2 separate regions of the Homo sapiens genome follow, and region 1 is linked to region 2. Evidence: promoter capture Hi-C in 16 types of primary human blood cells and fetal thymus (Javierre and others, 2016). All regions are on one chromosome and are shown on one strand. Each heading gives the region's core, a stretch centred on a gene start or on the middle of the fragment in contact. The rest is flanking DNA. Distances are from core to core; before and after follow the strand shown.

The links. Contacts are between HindIII fragments. The CHiCAGO score rates a contact against its expected background, and 5 or more counts as called.
Region 1: the fragment with the promoter of LRRN2 here is called in contact with the fragment with the promoter of MDM4 in region 2 in 2 of 17 cell types (erythroblasts and fetal thymus); the score reaches 9.1 in erythroblasts.

The regions. Positions count from the first base shown.
Region 1 is chr1:204,684,277-204,688,483 of GRCh38, reverse strand. It overlaps LRRN2 (leucine rich repeat neuronal 2), which reads left to right and starts at 2,746. Exons shown (of 2, transcript NM_201630.2): 1 at 2,746-3,164. The HindIII fragment of the contact is 5,264 bases long and covers 894-4,207 here.
Region 2 is chr1:204,513,512-204,517,750 of GRCh38, reverse strand. It overlaps MDM4 (MDM4 regulator of p53), which reads right to left and starts at 1,345. Exons shown (of 11, transcript NM_002393.5): 1 at 1,242-1,345. RefSeq lists enhancers at 1,073-1,352, 1,383-1,462, 1,473-1,602, 1,041-1,951, 892-2,091 and 1 more. The HindIII fragment of the contact is 1,369 bases long and covers 386-1,754 here.

The DNA of each region.
Region 1 (4,207 bases), core at 1,497-3,996, 170 kb before region 2:
TCCCTGTAACATCTCACAGCAACCTATAAGTATGAATCCATTCCATTATTGCTATCTTCATCCTAAAGAAGTGCTAGGGAGACTTGGCTTGGTGTTTGGACTCTGTCATTTGAGGACCCTGGATTCCCGTCTTAGCTCTGTTACATACTGGTTAGGTAAACACTGAACCTTGTTTTTCTCCTATCACTAGAGTCCTAGTATTGGTCAAATTTTTGATGAGATGATGCATAAATGTGCTAGCACCTTGCCTTGCATGTAGTAGGTGCTCAATAAATGTTAACTGCTATTACTTGAATTAATATCGTTACTCAGGAAAGAATCAGAGCTGGGGAAGTTCAATACTTTGCCTGAAGCAAGACAGAGTAAATGGACAAGTAGAGTTCCAAATCCAAATCTTTCCAGCTCTAAAAGCTACACTCTTTCTCCAATCTCATTGGGTTCTAAGACATTTGGAGTCAGCTCAAGATAAGCCTTCCCCTATTTTCTTCTCACAGCTGATGAAATTCCCTTATGCCTCATCTAGTACATCTCACAGGCTTTGCCACTCAGGATCAACCACTTAGTGAACGTTACTTGCATTTATCCCATTTATTATTTCAATAATCAGTTATTGGACATCTACTATAAAGGACTGGTCTTATCTTATTAAGGTGTAAGACAGTCATAGGCTCCAGAAGCTTACCCTCTGGTTAGGAGATAAGACACTTGAGTATGCATAGTTATTGGGAAGCTGGGGTGCTGACATGAGTGCTCTCTCCGGTCGTGCAGTTGGTAAAGGACTCCTAAAATGTCCTCCTTTTCACCATCATCCTGTCTACATTGACATTGGCCCTTAGACTGGAAAGGTGGCTCCAGTGACTCGACAAGGGACTCAAATGCTCAGGCTAAAAGCTTGGAGTCAAGTTTTGACCCCTTTCAATCAGTCAGTCTTACAGTTCTGCCAAGTCTTCTTTACAAAGGCCCATGCATTTACTCTATTCTCACTGCTCCCCTCCTCCTAGATTCCTGCAACAGCTACCTCAATAGTCTCCCATCCTCCTGCCTCTTTCATCCCAAATCACCTGAGGATGGGTCCACAGATAAACTGCTGAGCCTGGCAATTCGGGCCCTTCATCAGCTGCTCCCACCCTGTATACTCAATGTGGCATTGTCGCACTGTGAAAATGAGGTCTCACATTCTGCCTACAGATTTTGGGCTACTGCCTTAAACGATCTGGGCCTCCATCCCCCGGTCTGTTAAAAGGGGATATTAGTCAACTCAGAGTCTAAGATGACAGAGATGAGAAAAGGCTGGCATCTAATAGTAGCTCTATAATTTTCCTCCCTTGCCCCCTACCCTCCAGACAACCCATTCTACTCTGCTTGTCTCCACTTTCCTGCCTTTGCTGGTCCCCATATTCTCTTCCAGTTCAAATCCTATCCCTCCAACTAGGCTCAGTTGGAGACTCAGCTCCTCCGTTAAACCTTTTGTGAATAATGCTAGTCCATTAAGGTGGTTTCTTTTTGTATTTCTATGGCACTTCCATCGTCTTGAAATATTAAAATTGGTTTCATATAGTTCCAACCTGTCACTCTGAGCTCCTTGAGGCCATTATGCTCCGTAGCAGGGGTGGAGAGTGGGAACATGGGGGTGGTTTAGTGGGAACTTAATATGTGCTCATTCAATATATGAAGGTGAGAATCCCCTCTGTGCATACAGAACTCAGACCTTCAAGCCAACTTCACAAAAGCCACCAGGCATGGCAGTCACCACTGGCTGTACCCTTGGAAAAGACAGGGCCAGAAGCTCAAGCACTGGATGACGGCAGGCAGCCCAGGGAAGCCACTCCTCACAGGACTCCACACCTTGGCCTCCACCTCATCCATTCCCCTGTTGTTGGTTCTGCAGGCTCTGGTCCAGACCCATCAGTAGGGTGTGGCCTGCCATGGAGCCGAGTTTGTGATGTCTGTTCTGAGTGGTCCAGGCTGAAGTCCCCACCAAGGCATGGGTGTTGGGCATTGGGCCTTTGCCCTCCTCTAGTGGCAGTCACCCAGCTTTTCTAAGCCACCAGGCAGCAGCCTAGCACCCACCTTTGGCACCTTCTTACTTTCCTCCCCCAGTCTTCATGATGTCCAGCTGGCAGAGTGGGGAACCCTGAAGCCAAACCCCTAACTGGGCCTGCCAGTTCCTGACTGAAATTGACCTCCTTCATTGAGAGCCAGGACGGAATCTTCCAGAATGCTAGAGCTGCACGGCTCAGGATGCAATGCTGGAAAAGCATGACAACTAAAGGGGTCTTCCACTCCATTCTTTAGGGTGAGAGGTGCCTGGGCCCAGTGACAAATTCTCACCCACCCCACTACATTCCTTAGTCCACTGTTAACTTCGGGAGGGTAGCACCATGCAAAGCAAAAATGTGATCTTAGGTGCATGCTGTGACTGTGAGCTGCACCTGTCCTCACAAAGCTGCTGAATTCCCCATTCGTCTCCTGGCCTTTGCAAGAGGGTCCGAGGCAGTATGAGAGAAGCCAACCCTTCTCTTCCCGGACCCAAGGGCTGTGCCCCTTCTCTCAGCCAAGCCTTGTGTCTCTAGGCACAAGGACAGCTCAAGCGTTAGCGTCTGGCCCCACCCAACTCCTTCCTCCCGGGTGTGTGTGCGTTAGGTAGAGGGGGCCTCTGGCCACTCAGGAGTTAAAATGGCAGCGGGACTGGAGGGGGTTGGCGTGGCATGCAGACTGGGAGGAGGCGACCGGAGTGGGCTGGGGAGGTTGGGAGAGCGGCGGAGAAGCGAGTGAGGAGGGCGAGCGCGAAGCCGGGAAGAGGGGCGCGCGTGGAGGGGGTGCCGGGCGCCGCGAGGGCCTGCTCCGGGCACCTGCGAACGCGCGGCGCTCTCAAGGAGCGCCTGGCTCTCGCCCGCCAGCCTCCGGCCGCGACGCGCCCAGGGCGCGGAGAGGGGGTGGGGACGGATTGGGATTCTGCCATCGCCCTCACCGGCTGGGCCCTGGAGCCGCTCCCAGGATAACTCCACGTTGGGGAGGGCGCCCGCCGAGCCTCCCCGGCCTGTGCAGACGGCGCGCGCGGCGGGAGGGCGCGGACCAGCGTCCCCAGCCCGGCCCCGGGCGGAAGGCGAGCGGAGCGCGGCCGCGCGGGCAGCAGACGGCAGACGGTGCCCGGCGCCCACGGGGTGAGTGTGCAGCTTCGGGGCTGACCTGGGCAGCGCCGCCGCCGCCGGGGAATCGTGGACACCGAGGTCGCTGGCGTGGCCGAGGCGTACGCGGCGGGAGCGGCCGGAGCAGCCGCCTCAGGGCTCCTGGCTCCTGCCCCGGCACCGCAGCTCCGCCTGACCCGGGTGGGGGCCAGAGGAGGGCCGGCCGCTGCCTTCCGCCGAGACGCCTGCGGGGGAGCCGGAGACTTGGGAGAGGGAGGCGGCCGAGGGGCAGAGGGACGGAGGGCTGGAGAATGCCCAGAAGCGGCCAGGGAGAGGGCGCCTGGGCCTTCGCCTGGAGAGGCCAGAACCTCCCCCAAACTGTTGCTGGGTAGAGTGGGGCCCTGGAGATGTGGAGGAGCCGAGAGGTGGCAGTGAGGTTAGGGAGGGCGTGACACGGGCGGACTGGCAGGCTGGAAGCGCTCCAGAGCCTGGGGACTTTCTCCTCCTTGGAGCTCGCGAGTCTGTGCGGAGGGACAAGGTGGCCTTGGGTCTGTCTGAAGTATCTGGAACCAGGAGCTAGGCTCCTCCCGGGCCGGCTGGCTGGGGTCCGACCGCAGCCTGGGATGGGACCTTTGGGGTGGGGGATGGGCCGGCCTGGGGCTCAGCCTGGGGACTCGGTCAGGGGGAAGCGGAAACGGAAGGGTGGCTCTGAGCCCACCGCAGGACCCAGGAGACAGGATGGGCTGGCCAGCCACAGGTGGGCCGTCTGTCCTGCTGGCAAAGGGTGGCGCAGGCTCTGGCTGCCCAGCCGGCGAGGAGCCGCGGGGTGAGGGAACTGAGCTCCATCTGGGGCCGAGCGGAGAAGCTAAAGAGGTGCAGGAGACCCGGAACCTGGGGAGGGGCCCCGGGGGTAGCACTGTGCTCCCTACCCTTCCTCCCCCACCCAAACGAACAGGAAGGAAAATGTCAGCTGGGCTTTGTGCTCTGTTCCTCAGGCTGCCGCAGCTCCCATCTGTTGGAGCCAACGCAGCTTCTAACTGGGCGACTGGCAGGGTTGGAGGGGGTGGGCTGGGCACAGC
Region 2 (4,239 bases), core at 96-2,595:
ACAGAGCTGCAGCATTTTCTCCGGGTGTTGCTTTTAAACTGTGGTTTTCGGCCGGGCACGGTGGCTCACGCCTGTAATCCCAACACTTTCGGAGGCCGAGGTGGGCGGATCACCTGAGGTCTGGAGTTCGAGAACAGCCTGGCCAACCTGGTGAAACCTCATCTCTAATAAAACACAAAATTAGCCAGGCGTGGTGGCGCACACCTGTAATCCCAGCGACCCGGGAGGCTGAGGCAGAAGAATCACTTGAACCCGTGAGGCAGAAGTTGCAGTGAGCCAAGATCGCGCCACTGCACGCCAGCCTGGGCAAAAAGAGCGAAACTCCACTCAAAAAAAACAAAAACAAAACAAAAACACAACCAAAAAAACCTGTGGTTTTCAAGCTTTAAGGTATACAAAAATCACTGGGAGGTGTGCTCATTAAAATATATTTCTCTGAGCCCCATCTCGATACTGTCTGTAGGTTTCAGTGTGGCCCCAAAACGAACATTTTTTCTTTTTTTTTTTTTGAGACGGAATCTCCCTCTGTAGCCCAAGCTGGAGTGCAGTGGCGCGATCTCGACTCACTGCAACCCCCGCCCACGGATTCAAGTGATTCTCCTGCCTCAGCCTCCCGAGTAGCTAGGATTACAGGCATGCGCCACCACACACATCTAATATTTTTGTATTTTTACTAGAGACGGGGTTTCACCAGGTTGGCCAGGTTGGTCTCGAACTCCTGTCCTCAGGTAGATCCACCCACCTCGGCCTCCTGAAGTGCTGGGATTACAGGCGTGAGCCACCGCGCCAAGCCAAAACAAGCATTTTCAAACAAGCACTCAAGTGCCTCTAAGGTAGACTGTCCGCAGACCTAAAAACTAACTTAAAAACTTAAGACACGTCAATGTCATTCTACCCGGTTCCCTCTCTCCCACCTCCTTTCTCCAAATTGCCTCAACAGTCCTCAAATGTTGTGTCCAGTTAAACTCAATCCAACTACGTCGACTTTAGGTTTGTCACCTGTTGGCCAAAGTTACTTCACGTCACCCCACCTCCACTTTTATCTTCCGCGAGCCCTCATCCCACAACTCTTCCCCTCCCCCCGAGCCCTTCTTCCGCCTGGCGCGGCCTTCCCCACGCCGCCCGACCCACCTCTCAAGCTCCTCCCGCCCGCTACCCGCACAACTGGCGGTACGGCCGCCTGCTCCTCACTCTCCAGCTCCCGCTCCCGGCACCCCGCCGACGAAGGCCAAGAGCCACACCTTACGGCAGCTCCATGAGTCGCTCCCCCGCCGAGCCCGGGTGGGGGGAGGGGTGGCAGTCACAGATCCTAGGGCCTCGGCAGCATTTTGAAATGGCGAGTAATGAAGCCGCAACTTCCGGCCTCCCACACGGCCTCACACGAGGGCTTCCGGTGAGGCCTCCGGAAACCATAGATGGAGCAATGGGAGGACTAGAGAGCTAGAAAGGCTGAGCTCACTACCATAGAGTAGATCCTAGTCCGGGGAGAGAGTCGTGGGGCCCGAACGGTTGAAAGTCGTCAGATTTGAAGAGATAATAAGTGAGGGACTTGCAGGGTCTTGTGATATTTACAGACGTGTATTAGGAGATCAGAAAACAGAGAAGAGGAAGAGCTAAGGTCATAATCACAGGCTGCCTTCAGCTCTTCGGAAAAACTACGCTTCCTCTGCCATTCCCCAGTCCTCACCCTTACTCCCCAAGGGTGGTAGGGAAGGGAAACGGAGCGATGGCGGCACTAGGGTGGCAAGGAAGCTTGAAGCCATGTCAAATAAATAGTTGAAAGCACCAGCCGCTGTGGCTCACGCCTGTAATCCCAGCACTTTGGGAGGCCTAAGGCAGGCGGATCACCTGAGGTCAGGAGTTCGAGACCAGTCTGACCAATATGGTGAAACCCTGTTTCTACTAAAAATACAAAATTAGTCGGGTGTGGTGGCGCATGCCTGTAATCCCAGCTACTCAGGAGAATCGTTTGAACTTGGGAGGCGGAGGTTGCAGTGAGCCGAGATAGCGCCATTCCAGCCTGGGCAACAAGAGCGAAACTCCTCAAAAAAAAAAAAAAAAAAGAAAAAGAAATAGTTGAAGGCTCAAGGGAGTTTTTAACCTGCATATAAACGAGGGAGGCCGGGCGCAGTGGCTCTCCCCTGTAATCCCAGCGCACTTTGGGAGGCCGAGGCGGGCGGATCACCTGAGGTCAGCAGTTCGAGACCATCCTGCCCAACATGGCGAAACCCCCGTTTCTACTAAAAATACAAAAAATTAGCGGGGCATGGTGGCGGTCACCTGTAATCCCAGCTACTTAGGAGGCCGAGGCAGGAGAATCGTTTGAACCCGGGTGGCGGAGGTTGCAGTGAGCCGAGATAGCGCCATTGCACTCCAGCCTGGGCGACAAGAGCGAAACTGCATCTCAAAAAAAAAAAAAAAAAAAAAGAGGGAAAGGGTTGAGCATAGAAATTGGAAGCTGTCTTCAAATAACTGAATAGTATAATATTGGAAATAACGGAGCCTTATTCTCTTCTCCAAAGTGCAGAACTAAAACCAATAGAAATTACAAGGCAGTATTTTTAAGCTCAGAAAATCCTCTAACATTTAGAGTTGTTCTGAAATAAATGAAATTAGGTATTTGGGGGAAGTAATGTCATTTGAAGACAGCCTGCCTGAGAGGTTTGTTGAAAGCTCTTCTATATTAGGAAACATTAAAACTGGCTGTGTAACCCAAGAAAGCTCCATCTCAGTGTTCTTTGCACCTGTCTTTTAGCATTTACCACGTATTTTTTTTTTAGTTATTTGTGTATATACCATTCTTATCTCTCCCAATAAGCAACAACAAAACCTGGCTCCCAATGCTAGATACAGACCCATGCAAAAGAACACAGGGCAGTAACCTTCCTTAAATTTGTACATTCCGCTTTGTTCTACTTCTAGCATAACCTCCTGCATAGCTGGGAGATCCAGGGTTCCATTAAGGAGCTGAAGAATTAACTTCTTTTTCATAGAAATCTGCAACCACCTCACTCACAAAAAAAAAAAAAAAAAGGTCAAGGGTGCTTTTTTAGGTGAACCACTGTCAACTATTTCCCCTGTCCTTTTGTGCAATTAGTATTTTTTAAAACTTTCAACAGGAATTTTTTTTTTGTAACTTTTAAATAGCATCTGGTTAGTTTGGATCCTTTCCTAATGTCTCCTGGAGCCTTGGAATATGATCTGTTCATGCAATTCAGTTTGTGTGAGATCAACAGGTATTTGTTGAGGCCAGGTGCAGTGGCTCACACCTGTAATCCCAACCCTTTGGGAGGCCAAGGTGGGAGGATCGTTTAAGCCCAGGAGTTCAAGACCAGCCTGGGCAAGAAAGCGAGAACACCATCTCTACAAAAAAAAAAAAAAAAAAAAAAAAAAAAAAATTAATTAGCTGAGCATCCTACTTGTGCCAAGCACCAATCTAGAGGATTCCAAAACAAGACCTGAAATCTGTCTAGTGGAGGAATCAGACTGTCCAGGTAAAAAGAATGTGGTAAGTGCAATGATTGATGAGCTGCAGTTAACCTCCTCTAGGTTAAGAGAGATAAGCCTTTTCAATTTGGGCAAAATATTGACCAACATCTTTAATTCGTCTTCATTTAAAATCTCGAGGGCCCGGCGCAGTGGCTTATGCCTGTAATCCCAGCACTTTGGGAGGTCGAGGCAGGTGGATCACGTGAGGTCAGAAGTTCGAGACTAGCCTGGCCAACATGGTAAAACACTGTCTAAAGATACAAAAAAGATTAGCCGGGTGCAGTGGTAGGCGCCTATAATCCCAGCTACTCGGGAGGCTGAGGGAGGAGAATTGCTTGAACCCGGAGGAGGAGATTGCAGTGAGTCGAGATTGCTCCACTGCACTCTAGCCTGGGTGATGGAGCCAGACTCTATCTCAGTCAATCAAAAAAAACAAAACGTTGATAAATATGTTGACGAGGCCATGGTGAAGAATAGAGTTTTTCCCATCGTGGTTGACACTGATTTGTGAGTAATTGCTCATCTTCTAATTTTTTTAAAAAAATAGACACAGGGTCTTACTATGTCGCCCAGTCTGGTCTTGAACTCCTGGCCTCAAGTGATCCTCCCCCACACCTTGGCCTCCCAAAGTGTTAGGATTACAGGTGTAATCTTATAATCCTACAGGTGGCACCCGCCAGCACGCCCAGCTAATTCTATGTGTGTGGTTATTTTGTTTTGTTTTGTTTTGTTTTGTTTTTGAGACGGAGT